Linked DNA regions of Homo sapiens: region 2 is linked to region 1. Evidence: promoter capture Hi-C in human tissues and cell types (Jung and others, 2019). All regions are on one chromosome and are shown on one strand. The core of a region is centred on a gene start or on the middle of the fragment in contact, and the rest is flanking DNA. Distances in the headings are between cores, read along the strand shown.

Region 1 (6,671 bases), core at 1,329-3,828:
TCCCAGCACTCTGGGAGGCCAAGGCGGGCAGATCACGAGGTCAGGAAATCGAGACCATCCTGGCTAATATGGTGAAACCCCGTCTCTACTAAAAATACAAAAAATTAGCCAGGTGTGGTGGCGGGCGCCTGTAGTCCCAGGTATTCGGGAGACTGCGGCAGGAGAATGGCGTGAACCCGGGAAGCAGAGCTTGCAGTGAGCCGAGATCACACCACTGCATTCCAGCCTGGGCAACAGAGCGAGATTTTGTCCAAAAAAAAAAAAAAAAAAAAAAATTAGCCAGGCGCGGTTGCGGGCGCCTGTAATCCCAGCTACTCCGGAGGCTGAGGCAGGAGAATCGCTTGAACCAGGGAAGTGGAGGTTGCACACACCACTGCGCTCCAGCCTGGGCAACAAGAGCCAAACTCCGTCGAAAACGAAGCAAGGAAGGGAAGGAAGGAAAGAGAAATTATTTCAACAGCACTGGCCTCTCCATGTCGTCACTCAGTCTCCTCTATAAATTCAAGTCCCAAGACACCCTGCCCTACCCTTGCCTCTGGGCTGCTTATCATTCTTGTTCTGTCTTCTTTATCCAGTTGGAAACCATATTACAAACTAACTTAGATTTCCAAGCCAGAGAGCAAGTAAACACCTCCTAAATCCTTCATCAAGGAAAACCTCTTGGAAGGTTTTGAAGCTCAACATTCAGAATCAAATGTAGTCTTACCCAGTAATTCCACTCCTAGAACACAAAAACTTGTGTTATGAACACGAATGTTCATAGCAGCATTATTTCTAACAGCCAAAAAGTAAAAACATCCATATGCCCATCACCTGATACATGGATAAACAAAACATGGTCCATCCAAACACGTGATTATGCAGCCATGAAAAGGCATGCAGTACTGATTCATCTACATGGATGAAATCTTGAAAACATGCTTAATAAAAGCCCAGCAGAAAAAGCCAAGTATCACATGATCCCATTTACATAAAATGTACTGAATACGCAAAACCACAGAGACAGAAAGCCGATAAGTGATTGCCAGGGGATGGGGTCGGGGGAATTGCGGAGTGACTACGAATGGGTACGGCAGGTTCGATTTGGGGTTTTAAAACGTTCTGGAATTAGCGACGATGGCTGCAAATCCTGTGAACGTACTGGAAACCACTGAATGTACACTTCTAGTGTGCATTTTATGATACTGTATCTTTTAAAAAACATATTGTCTGCCCTGCAAACTGATTCCTTTACACCTCTCCTGTGTTCATTATTTCAGTGACTGGAGGCACACTACTCTCAGATGTTAAGGCCAGAAACCGGCAAATCGTTAACAACTGCGTCTTGACTATGCTCCATATTTCTCCATTCTTTTCGCTCCACCTCCTAATTCGGGCCGCTCTCACTTTTCATCTAGATTATGTAATAGCCTCCTAATGGGTGTCCTTGCCTCATCTGTTCTCACTGTAATTAGGCCTTTAAAAACAAAATCTTACGCCGGGCGTGGTGGCTCACGCCTGTAATCTCAGCGCTTTGGGAGGCCGAGGCGGGAGGATCTCTTGCGGCCAGGGCTCGAGACCAGCCTGGGCAACATAGTGAGACTCCCCCCCCCGCCCCCACCGCCCGTCTCTACTTAAAAAAAAAAAAAAAAAAAGCCGTGAGCGGTGGCTCACGCCTGTAATCCCACCACTTTGGGAGGCCGAGGCGGGCGGATCACCTGAGGTCAGGAGTTGGAGACCAGCCTGGGCAACAGAGTGAAACCTAGTCTCTACTAAAAACACAAAAATTAGCTGGGCGTGGTGACTGGCGCCTGTAATCCCAGCTACTTGGGAAGGTGAGGCACAAGAACCGCTCGAACCCGGGAGACAGAGGTTGCAGTGAGCCGAGATCGCGCCACTGCACCCCAGCCTGGGCAACAAGAGCAAAACCCCGTCTCAAAAAACAAACAACAAAAAACCTTCAATGGCTCCCGACGACCCCAAGTTGAAGCTCAAACCCTTAATACGATGTGTAAAGTCCCTCAAATACCAAGCCATGGCAAACCTCTGCTACCTTTCCCCCAGGCCCTGGCTGGCTTCACCCTAGCCCTGCGGAAGAGCTCGGGCATCCCCTCCAGGCACCTGAAGCGCGGCAGAATCCCCTCTTCACGTAGCTAACCCTCCCCGACCTCCAGGCCTCGACTCTCACGCCACCCCACCTGAGAGGAAGCTTCTCGGGCCCCCAGGCCAGATTTGGTGCCTCTCCCGGTCCCCCTCACACCGTCCACTCTCCGCTCCACAGGCAGGTATGCCCAGAGGGGGCCGCCGTTGTATCCGCGAACATTTCCTGAGCCAGCTGGGGAGGAACCAGACTTTATCTCACAGCTGCCACAGTGCCTTAAACTCGCCCTAACTCTTTCTCAAAAACTAACAGACTCCACCTGAAGCAAGCGCCGCTTCCGCCTCGCCCCGCCTCCTGCCGACCGGAAGCGCTGGCCGCCGCGGGCCCGCGCCCGGCGCCGCAGAGGAAGACCGGAAGCGAGGCTGCCGCACCACCGCGCGCGCCCGCTCTGCGCCTGCGCGCAGGCAATGCTCCGCGGGGGCGCGGGCGGCGCATGCGCAGGCGCGCGAGTCTCCGTTAAGAAGGTGCCGCGGCGGCGCCGGAGGTAGGAGGAGCCGGGCTGTGGGGCTGGGAGTCGGCACCCGGGAGGCGGAGGTCCTGTCATTTCGGGCCGTTCTCTCTTTCCTAAGGGAGAAGAGCCTTTCTCGCCCGTCTCCCTCGCTGGCTCCGTGGCCTCGGCAGGCCCGCAGCCCCGACGGAGAGGCAGGAGCCGCACTCGGGTGGAGAGGGGCCGGGGCCCGCCTGGAGGGAGGAGGGTGGCGGATCCGGATCCCCACGGTGGTCTCCGTCCGGGCCAGTCCGGGGATCGGGGTTCTCCGTCTGACTTTAGAGCCGTTAGAGTCTTTGGCAGCCCTTTTCCCAGACGGGGAACCCCTCAGCCCCTTTCCGTAGGTCGCCGGGTTGGGGGAAGCGGGAGGGTCCGCCCCTTACCGATCCATTCATTCATCCCTCGCCTGCTGTGAGCCGTGGGCTGCGGTAGGTACGAAGCAAGGAGGCACAAGTCCCCTTCCCTCTGGAAACCTGCAGGCTTGCAGGATCCGTTATGTCATTCAGTAAATCTTGACTGGGCACCTATAGGAGGAGATAGACTGTTGTGAGGTTCATATCAACAGAGATGCGGAGATCAACACAGTTGTGGAGGTGGAATTTGTTCCAGCCGCTCCCCGCATCCAACAGGATAAAATTCACTTTGCCTAGCCTGACCTTCCAGGCCCTTGTGAGCCAATCCTTTCCTCTCCCCGCAGCGTTTTCTCCTACACCTTTCTCTCTACTCCCATTATACCGAACTCTTTGCAATTCATGAATTCAACAAGTAGTTGTGGAGCACTTATTTCAAGTCAGGCACCAGATCAGCCAAAGAGGTTGCAAAGTAATAGATGGATCTCTACCCTCCTGAAGTGTTGAGCTTAATGGGGGACAGATAATAAGCCGATGAATAAAAACACAAGAGCGGATAGTTTCGAACCACACTTCCTGGGTTTGATCCCAGCCCTGCCACTGTGAAAGCTGTTCCTGAACTGGCTTTAGGCCAGTTCCTCATTCTGCTTGCGCGTGTTTCCTTGCCGTAAAGACAGGATGACAAGAGATTCCACCATATAGGCTTCTTGTAAGGATTAAACGAGTTTGACTTGGAAAGCAATTGGAACAGTGCTTGGCACACAGTAAGCATTCGATAGATATTACCTGTTTCATATGATGATAACCTATGACAGATGCCATTGTGAAAACAGTGGGCGATGATAGGGATTAACGGGGATGGAGACGGTCCATAAAGGATTAGAGGACACTTCTCTAAGGGGAAGACACAGAAGAGAATGCGCCAGCCATACAAAGTAGATTCTAGGTAGGAGTATTTTCAGCTCTGGAAAACAAAATGATTAATTAGATTCCTTGGACAGTGGAGATTGCATTATTGTATTTGAAAGGAATAACTTTCTGCCATTGGGTCATTCAGTTTTGATTTTTGAACCCCACTTAGCTGTGTGCCAAAGTAAACAACCATGCTCACGAGGCCCAGCCTTTGCACACAGGCGACATTCCAGTCATCCAGGTTTGGAGAGCCTTGCTGGGTTGAGAAGATAAGTAAAAGTGACCTTTTCTCTCCTGAGTGTTCATGAGAATATAATGTCTCTTTCTGTCTCTTATGTTGCAGTATTTACAGAAAGAGCCTCTTTAACAGCCAGGGGTCTTAGATCAGTGTAGGAGATAGTTTTCCTAGATTTGGGGATCATCCTGTTTCTGTGGTGACTGCCTTTTATGGGGTTTGCTCCCTAAATTTCAGTTAAGAAAACACTCTCCCAAGATGCACATATTTTAATACCTGTGGAAGAACAACATGCTTTGACAGGTTTCTAGGTCCTTTTGTTGTGATGTCTGATAGGACGGTTAGACCATGTTAACCAGGCTGGACTGAGTATTTGACAGTATTGTTACTCCGAAGACTTTTCCCTCACCCCACATGCCCTTGTCCCTCCCTGGAAGAACTGGCATAAAATGACAATGTCTGATTACACTTACATGCTTTTGGTTTTCCACAGATGTGTAATTAAGTGAACCATATATGTTTCATCATCATGGAGATCTTGGAGAATTATCTGAGCACCAGGTTCATATGTATTCGATCTCAGAGGCATCTATTGGACAACAAAACACTCTTTCAGTTGTGAACTTTATTTATTTATTATTATTATTTTTTGAGACAGAGTTTTGCTCTTGTTGCCCAGGTTAGAGTGCAGTGGCACGATCTCGGCTCACTGCAATCTCCGCCTCCCAGGTTCAAGCGATTCTCTTGCCTCTGCCTCCCGAGTAGCTGGGATTACAGGCATCTGCTACCACGCCTGGCCAATTTTTTGTATTTTCAGTTGAAACGAGGTTTCACCATATTGGCCAGGCTGGTCTCGAACTTCTGACCTCAGGTGATCCACCCCCCGCCTCGTCCTCCAAAAGAGCTGGGATTACAAGTGTGAGCCACCGCGCCCGGCCCAGTTGTGGACTTTAACAGAGGGAAGCTTTAAACATGTTTAACCACAGGCCCAATTTGAACAAAGATACTTCAATCATTATAGAGAGGAAAACAGTACTTTTTGTTCAATTGTGCAAACTCTCCAAGTATCTAATGGAGAAGTAGAGAAGAACCCTAATGAAACTGAGTGTGAATGAGGCTCAGCTAGGCTTCTACTTGGGTTCACTTTCTCATCTGTCTGCCTGTCCTGGGATTGACCCTCGCTCCTCTGAAGACCAGCCTGAAAGCCTTAAAACTGGTCAGATGATGGATGAGTCTGATGAGGACTTTAAAGAACTCTGCGCTAGCTTTTTCCAAAGGGTGAAAAAACATGGAATCAAGGAAGTGTCAGGAGAAAGGAAGACACAAAAGGCTGCCTCAAACGGCACTCAGATAAGAAGCAAATTGAAAAGGACCAAACAAACTGCTACCAAGACCAAAACCCTTCAAGGCCCTGCAGAGAAGAAACCTCCGTCTGGCAGCCAGGCCCCTAGGACTAAAAAGCAAAGGGTAACCAAATGGCAAGCAAGTGAACCGGCCCACTCTGTGAATGGGGAGGGGGGTGTGCTTGCCTCTGCTCCAGATCCACCTGTGCTCCGGGAAACAGCACAAAACACCCAGACGGGTAACCAGCAAGAACCATCGCCAAACCTTTCCAGAGAGAAAACCAGAGGTAATTTGTACTCTTTTAAACCAGGGGCTGGAAAACTTCCTGGAAAGGGCCAGATCGTAAATATTTTGGCTTTGTAGGCCACACAGACTCTGTCACAACTACTCAACTCTGCTGTCATAGTGAGAAAGCAGGCGTGGACAATATGTAAATGAACAGGCATGGCCATATGCCAGTAAAACTTTATTTACAAAAACAGGCAGCCAGCCACATGACCGTAGTTTGCTAACTTTTGGTTTGTTTTTATTTTTTAATTTTTAAGCTTAAAAAAAAATTTAGAGCTGGAGGTCTCACTATGTTGCCCAGGCTGGTCTTGAACTCCTGGACTCAAGCAATCCTCGTGCCTCAGCCTCTCAGAGTGCTGGGATTACAGGCGTAAGCCACTGCGCCCGGCTGACTCCTGGTTTAAACAACAGTCAAGAAAAACATAACCCGTGTGAATTTTTCACATGATTGTGTTTGGAGTCCTCTGCTCTTTCAGAATTTCCTATGAAATTCTGTTATATGATTGACATGAGTTACACAAACAACACAATAATGCTGCTTCTCTTGTTTTCTTGAATTTATTCCAAAGTGGGTAAGTTGGACTGGGCCAGCCAATTTGGATAGGCTGCTGAGAGGGCCGCATGAGGACTCTGTGTGGGCTCAAGTCCCAGGAGAATCTTCAGGTTCTTTCTTTCTCTCTCTGAAGACCTTTTAATCTTTTCCTTTGTTATTGTTATTGATTTATTTACTTACTTAGTTTTTAGAGACAGGATCTTGGTCTCTCACCCAGGCTGGAGTGCAGTGGTGCTATCATAGCTTACTGCAGCCTTGACCTCCCAGGTTCAAGCAGTCCTCCCTGCCTCAGCCTCCCGAGTAGCTGGGACCACAGGCACCCACCACCGTGCCTGGATAATTTTTTAACTGTTTAAAGCAGT
Region 2 (6,671 bases), core at 3,914-6,413, 860 kb before region 1:
ATGTACCCGACTTTCCAGAACAATTCTGATTTCAAATACCCTGTTCCACCCAATTCTTTCAGTACACCTGTATGCTCAATGACAGGTGTTTCGCATAAAAATTATGATCATCACAGCTACTTATGAGGCCAGCCAGTCAACTAGATTAACTAAAATCAGGATGGCATTATAATGCCAGATTGTTTTATTTTTTTCTTTTTTTTTTTTTTTTTGAGACGGAGTCTCGCTCTGTCTCCCAGGCTGGAGCGCAGTGGCGCGATCTCTGCTTACTGCAAGCTCCGCCTCCCGGGTTCCCGCCATTCTCCTGCCTCAGCCTCCCGAGTAGCCGGGACTACAGGCGCCCGCCACCATGCCCGGCTAATTTTTTTTGTATTTTTTAGTAGAGACGGGGTTTCACCGTGTTAGCCAGCATGGTCTCGATCTCCTGACCTCGTGATCCGCCCGCCTCCGCCTCCCAAAGTGCTGGGATTACAGGTGCGAGCCACCGCGCCCGGACCAGATTGTTTTAATCACACTAGTACCTTCTTGCAGCCTCAGCACAGTGCTTTAATAGTAGGCCCTCTATCTCAGACATGAAAACATGAGCAAAAGCAAAAATACGAGGCCTGGCCGGGCGCGGTGGCTCACGCCTGTAATCCCAATGCTTTGGGAGGCCGAGGTAGGTGGATCACCTGACATCAGAAGTTTGAGACCAGCCTGACTAACATGGTGAAACCCCGTCTCTACTAAAAATACAAAAAATTAGCCAGGCGTGGTGGCAGACGCCTATAATCCCAGCTTCTCCAGAGGCTGAGGCAGGAGAATCGCTTAAACCTGGGAGGTGGAAGTTGCAGTGAACCAAGGTCACACCACTGCACTCCAGCCTGGGTGACAAGAGTGAAACTCTGTCTCAAAAAAAAAAAAAAAAAATAGTAGGCCCTTAGCCGGGCACGGTCGCTCCACCTCTAATTCTAATTGGGAGGCCAAAGTGGGTGGACCACTTGAGGTCAGGAGTTTGAGACCAGCCTGGCCAGCATGGTGAAACCCCGTCTCTACTAAAAATACAAAAATTAACTGGGTGTGGTGGCACACACCTGTAATCCCAGCTACTAGGGAGGCTGAGGAAGGAGAATCACTTGAACCCAGGAGGCAGAGGTTGCAGTGAGCCGAGACGGCGCCACTGCACTCCAGCCCTGGTGACAGAGCAAGACTCTAAGGAAAAAAAAAAAAAAAAGGCCGGGTGCTGTGGCTCACGCCTGTAATACTAGCACTTTGGGAGGCCAAGGAGGGTGGTTCGCTTGAGGTCAGGAGCTGGAGACCAGCGTGGCCAACATGGCGAAACCCCATCTCTACCAAAAGTACAAAAATTAGCCAGGCATGGTGGTGCATGCCTGTAGTCCCAGTTACTTGGAAGGCTGAGGCAGGAGAACTGCTTGAACCCCAGAGGCAGAGATTGCAGTGAGCTCAGATCAGATCACTGTACTCCAGCCTGGGTGAAAGAGCCAGACTCTGTTTCAAAAAAATAAAAAATAAAAAATAAAAAAGCCGGGCGCAGCGACTCATGCCTATAACCCCAGCACTTTGGGAGGCCAAGGTGGACGGATCACCTGAGGTCAGGAGTAGGAGACCAGCCCGGCCAACATAGTGAAACCTCATCTCTACTAAAAATACAAAAATTAGCCAGGCATGGTGGCATACGCCTGTAATCCCAGCTACTCAGGAGACTGAGGCTGGAGAATCGCTTGAACCCAGGAGGCGGAGGTTGCAGTGAGCTGAGATTGTGCCACCACACTCCAGCCTGGGTGACAGAGCAAGACTGTCTCAAAAAAAAAAAAAAAAAAAAAAAAAAAAAAAATAGAATAAGAAAAAGGCAGGCTGGGTACAAGATACTAGTCTGTTATGCCATTCTTCCCCACAGCCTTTTTAAAGTTACTGAGAACTATGACAGTAATTAGGCCTATAATACTCCTGGGAAGGAAACGAATCTATCTGTGAAACAAAAATTAATTTTTTCCCTAAGCTGAGTGAAGAGAATATCCACTTTGTTGGCTTCTGACATACACACTGACAGCACAGTTCACCAGACAACAATCACTCTTCTGGCGTCCCTTTCCCCAGGTATTCTATTCGCTTACTGCTCTATCTTCCCTGCCAGTCCACTCCCTCCTCTTTCCAGCCTGTGCCTTAGACAAGGACCCCAAACAAGGATCACCTGGGAAACTCCAAAAAACAGATTCCTAGTCATAATCCCAATTTTACCAAAAAAGAAGCGTTTGGAAACCCCTTAGATCGACAAGCAGCATCCAAAGACACCAAAAACTTAGGCTCATCAAGTATTAACTTCCTGCCTCAGCCTCCCAAGTAGCTGAGATTACAGGTATGTGCTAGCATCCTACTTATTGTTCACTCTGATAGAATTTTTTTTTCTTTGAGATGAAGTTTTGCTCTTGTCGCCCAGGCTGGAGTGCAATGGCATGATCTTGGCTCACTGAAACCTCTGCCTCCCAGGTTCAAGCAATTCTCCTTGCTCAGCCTCCCGAGTAGCTGGGATTACAGGCTACTTTTTGCAAGGCTAATTTTTGTATTTTTAGTAGAGACGGGGTTTCACAATGTTAGCCAGGCTGGTCTCGAACTCCTGACCTCAGGTGATCCACCCGCCTTGGTCTCCCAAAGTGCTGGGATTACAGGCGTGAGCCACCGCACCCAGTCTAGGTCAAGTTTTTCATCTCTTTCCTTTCCAAGGAGTTAAAGCTGAATTTCAAATTTTACAGTGAAATACACAATTCTAATTTTCTTTCTTTCTTTTTTTTTTTTTTGAGATGCAGTTTTGCTCCTGTTGCCCAGGCTGGAATGCAGTGGCACAATCTTGGCTCATCGCAACCTCTGCCTCCCAGGTTCAAGTGATTCTCCTGCCTCGGCCTCCCAAGTAGCTCGGATTACAGGCACACACCACCATGCCCAGCTAATTTTTGTATTATTATTATTTTTTTCTTAGTAGAGATGGGGTTTTTCCATGTTGGTCAGGCTGGTCTCTATCTCCCGACCTCAGGTGATCCGCCCATCTCGGCCTCCCAAAGTGCTGGGATCACAAGCATGAGCCACTGCACCGGGCCCACAATTCTAATTTTCAAATATATCTTCCTCCTGGAGGAGTGATATTCCAGTTTTGGGTGCAATCCTGATGTAGAGCCCAACTGTCCTGTGAAGAGAGTCAGCTGTTAAAAGGAAACCAAAAAATCAAGGTAGCTCTAGCTGTCCAATTTTACAAGTTTTCAACAGACTTGATGAGGGGTGAGCTAAAGGCGGTCAATGCTTTATTGTCTGTAACTCACTGGCACTGGCATTTCTAGAGTTGCTCACGTTCCCCCTTTTGGTGACTCACAGCACTTCAACATGTTGCCACAGCCAAGGAAAAAAGGAAATCAAGTCAGACAATGGAGGAATCACAGGATTTCCCTCTTCACATCCCCAGGTAGATGAGGTCATTCAATGAGTGTGTTTCCAAGGCTCCACAAATTCCCACACCCTCACCAGTGTTTAAACCTGAATGTTTTATCTGATAACTTTTTCTAATTTCACCAAGTAAGCTTATATATGTCTTAACTGTGAACTCCTGATAAGCACAAATTTTGTCTTGTGATAATTTATTTTTTTCTTTTTTGAGACAGGGTCTCACTCTGTCACCCAGGCTGGAGTGCAGTGATGCGATCTCAGCTCACTGCAATCTCCACTTCGTGGGCTCAAGTGATCCTCCAACCTCAAACTCCCCAGTAGCTGGGATTACAGACACGCGCCACCCCGCCCGTTTAACTTTTTTGTATTTTTAGTAGAGACGGGGTTTCACCATGTTGGCCAGGCTGATCTCGAACTCCTGACCTCAGGTGATCCGCCTGCCTCGGCCTCCCAAAGTGCTGGGATTACAGGAGTGAGCCACTGCACCGGCCAGCGTTTCTTTCTTCAATCACACTCCACCTTGTCTGGTTTGTAGCGCCATCAACAAAACACAGTACGTAAGGATGGACAGCCACAGGCCACGACAACCGGCTCATCAGAAGCGATTTTTTTTTTTTTTTTTTTTTTTTTTAGATGGAGTCTTGCTCTGTCGCCCAGGCTGGAGTGCAATGGCGTGATCTCGGCTCACTGCAACCTCTGCCTCCCGGGTTCAAGCGATTCTCCTGCCTCAGCCTCCTAAGTAGCTGGAGCTACAGGCTCACGTTACCATGCCCGGCTGATTTTTGTATTTTTAGTAGAGACGGGGTTTCACTATGTTGGCCAGGCTGGTCTCGGACTCCTGACCTCAAGCAATCCGCCCGCCCTGGCCTCCCAAAGTGCTGGAATTACAGGCGTGAGCCACCGACCCGGCCCAGACGCGATTTAAATGGCATGACACAGGCAGGCCTCGTGCAAAGACTGCAAGGAGGTCCCGGCAGCTTTTGCAGGGCAATTAATCCACCCAGAGCACTGCGCTCAGAAAGTAATAGGTAAACCCGCGTCCGGACTAACCGGCTGCCCCCACACTTGATCCCTCCCAGTCCGACTCTGCTCCAGGGCGTACCAGGGTTCACTCGTGAAGTCACGACACCCACTCAAGGGGCACTTCCTATAGAGATAAGGGCATTAGAGGAAGGGCAGAGCCCCGGTCAATGCCAACAGCCCGGGAAACAGCCAAGCCGGGCTCCAATCTCTGCCGGCATCCCCTGTCTGCACCGCCGACGCCCCCAGCTACGACCCCGGGGGTCACCTCGCCCAGCATAGCCGTGACGCTGGGAGAGGGTGGGCCCAACGGGGACGCCAAAGAGAGCCATTCAGGCCTCCCCGCGCCCCCGGGGAGACGACTTCTGGAGAGCGGCGTCCGCGGTTTCGCCCTCCCCTGACAGCCCCTCCACGCCCTTCTTCGTCCTTCTGCCCGGCCTCACCCAGCTTCCGGCCGCCCCCGGCCGGGTCTCCCCTCAGACCGGCGCAGGGGACCCAAAGGGCTGTGGCCCGGCCAAGCCCAGGTCCGAAGGCCTGGACCGAGGCAGGGCCCGCGAAGGACGCAGCGCGGTCCGAGAAGCCGGGCGGAAGGAAGGCCCCGGGAGGGCGCGGACAGCTCACCTGCCGCAGGTCGCTGTCGCCTGTCCGCCAGCCTCCAGTCAGCGTGCCCGTCAGCGACTCCCTCAGGCGCCGCAGTCCCTGCAGCCCAGCGGACTGGCGCGAGGCCGGCGCAACGTGGGCACGCAGCGCGGGGCGGGGCCTAGAGATGACACGCCCCTTGTAGCTGACACGCCCTTGCCGGGGGCGGGAAGCGGAGTATGTGGCTTTCCCCAGGTCTCTGGAGGTTGCAGGCTCAGGCTCTGCTCAGCGGGGTAAGTAGGCGTGCTTCGGCAGGAACACTAGTGTTCACAAGAGCCGAGGTGTGTGAGGGTGCCTCAGGGTTGAGCACTTTTCTTCCCCAGTGTGGTTTAATCCTTGTACATCCACTCAGTGATGTAAGAAATAGGGTTGTCAACCGTGGCACCACCCACTTGGTCACTTGCCAATGCAATCTGCGAAACTGAGTCTCAACTCTGACACCTCGGTTACCAGTCTTGTATCTGATCTCCCTGTTGCATTATTCGCATTCTTCAAACAGCGGCCAGAATGACAGAATGATTTTTCTTTTTTTGAGACCGAGTTTTGCTCGTCGCCCAGGCTGGAGTGCAATGACGTGATCTCGGCTCACTGCAACCCCCTTCTCCCGGGTTCAAGCGATTCTCCTGCCTTAACCTCCCGAATAGCTGGGATTACAAGCGCCTGCCACCACGCCCGGCTAATTTTTGTATTTTTAGTAGAGACGGGGGTTTCACCATGTTGGCCAGGCTGGTCTCGAACTCCTGAGCTCAGGTGATCCACCCGCCTCGGCCTCCCAAATCACTGCAATTACAGGCCACCGCACCCAGCCCAGAGTCATTTTTTAGTTTTACTGAACACAAAGAAATTACTGAAATCGTGGGCCGGGTGTGGTGGCTCATGTCTGTAATCCCAGCACTTTGGGAGCCTGAGGCGGGAAGATCACTTGAGGTCAGCAGTTCGAGACCAGCCTGGCCAGCATGTTGAAACCCCGTCTCTACCAAAAATACAAAAAAATTTTAGCCGGGCATGGTGGCTCCTGCCTGTAATCCCAGCTACTCAGGAAACTGAGGCAGGAGAATCACTTGAACCCAAGAGGCGGAAGTTGCAGTGAGCCAAGATCGCACCACCACTGCACTCCAGCCTGGGCCACAGAGCAAGACTCCACCTTGAAAACAAAAAACAAAAACAAAAAAAAACTGAAATCAGTGCAAGTAGCAGCAACTTCAGAAGTGAGTTAGGGCTGGGCACGGTGGCTCCCACCTGTACTCCCAGCACTTTGGGAGGCTGAGGTGGGTGGATCACTTTAAGTCAGGAGTTCGAGACCTGCCTGGTCAACCTGGTGAAACCCCGTCTCTACTAAAAAATACAAAAATTAGCCGGGCTTGGTGGCACATGCTTGTAATCCCAGCTACTCGGGAGGCTGAGGCAGGAGAATCTCTTGAACCCGGGGGGCGGAGGTTGCAGTAAGCCGAGATCGCGCCACTGCACACCAGCCTGGGCGACGGACCAAGACACTGTCTCAAAAAAATAAAAATAATAAAATTTTAAAAGTGAGTTAGGCAAAGAAAATATCAAGCGGACAAGGCCTCAAGGGATAAGAC

The links. Contacts are between HindIII fragments. The study calls those that stand out against the background at their distance.
Region 2: the fragment with the promoter of HMOX2 here is called in contact with the fragment with the promoter of SLX4 in region 1 in 2 of the 25 tissues and cell types used here (dorsolateral prefrontal cortex and lymphoblastoid cells).

What each region holds. Positions count from the first base shown.
Region 1 is chr16:3,607,513-3,614,183 of GRCh38, reverse strand. SLX4 (SLX4 structure-specific endonuclease subunit) reads left to right here and starts at 2,578. Exons shown (of 15, transcript NM_032444.4): 1 at 2,578-2,624; 2 at 4,618-5,754. The coding sequence starts at 5,220. It also overlaps a transcript of DNASE1 not described here. RefSeq lists an enhancer at 2,261-2,330 and a silencer at 2,371-2,720. The HindIII fragment of the contact is 5,274 bases long and covers 278-5,551 here.
Region 2 is chr16:4,474,890-4,481,560 of GRCh38, reverse strand. It overlaps HMOX2 (heme oxygenase 2), which reads right to left and starts at 5,163. Exons shown (of 6, transcript NM_002134.4): 1 at 5,074-5,163. It overlaps LOC124903636 (a long non-coding RNA gene), which reads left to right. Exons shown (of 3, transcript XR_007064964.1): 3 at 2,000-2,297. It also overlaps a transcript of NMRAL1 not described here. RefSeq lists an enhancer at 4,866-5,367. The HindIII fragment of the contact is 17,527 bases long and covers 1,015-6,671 here.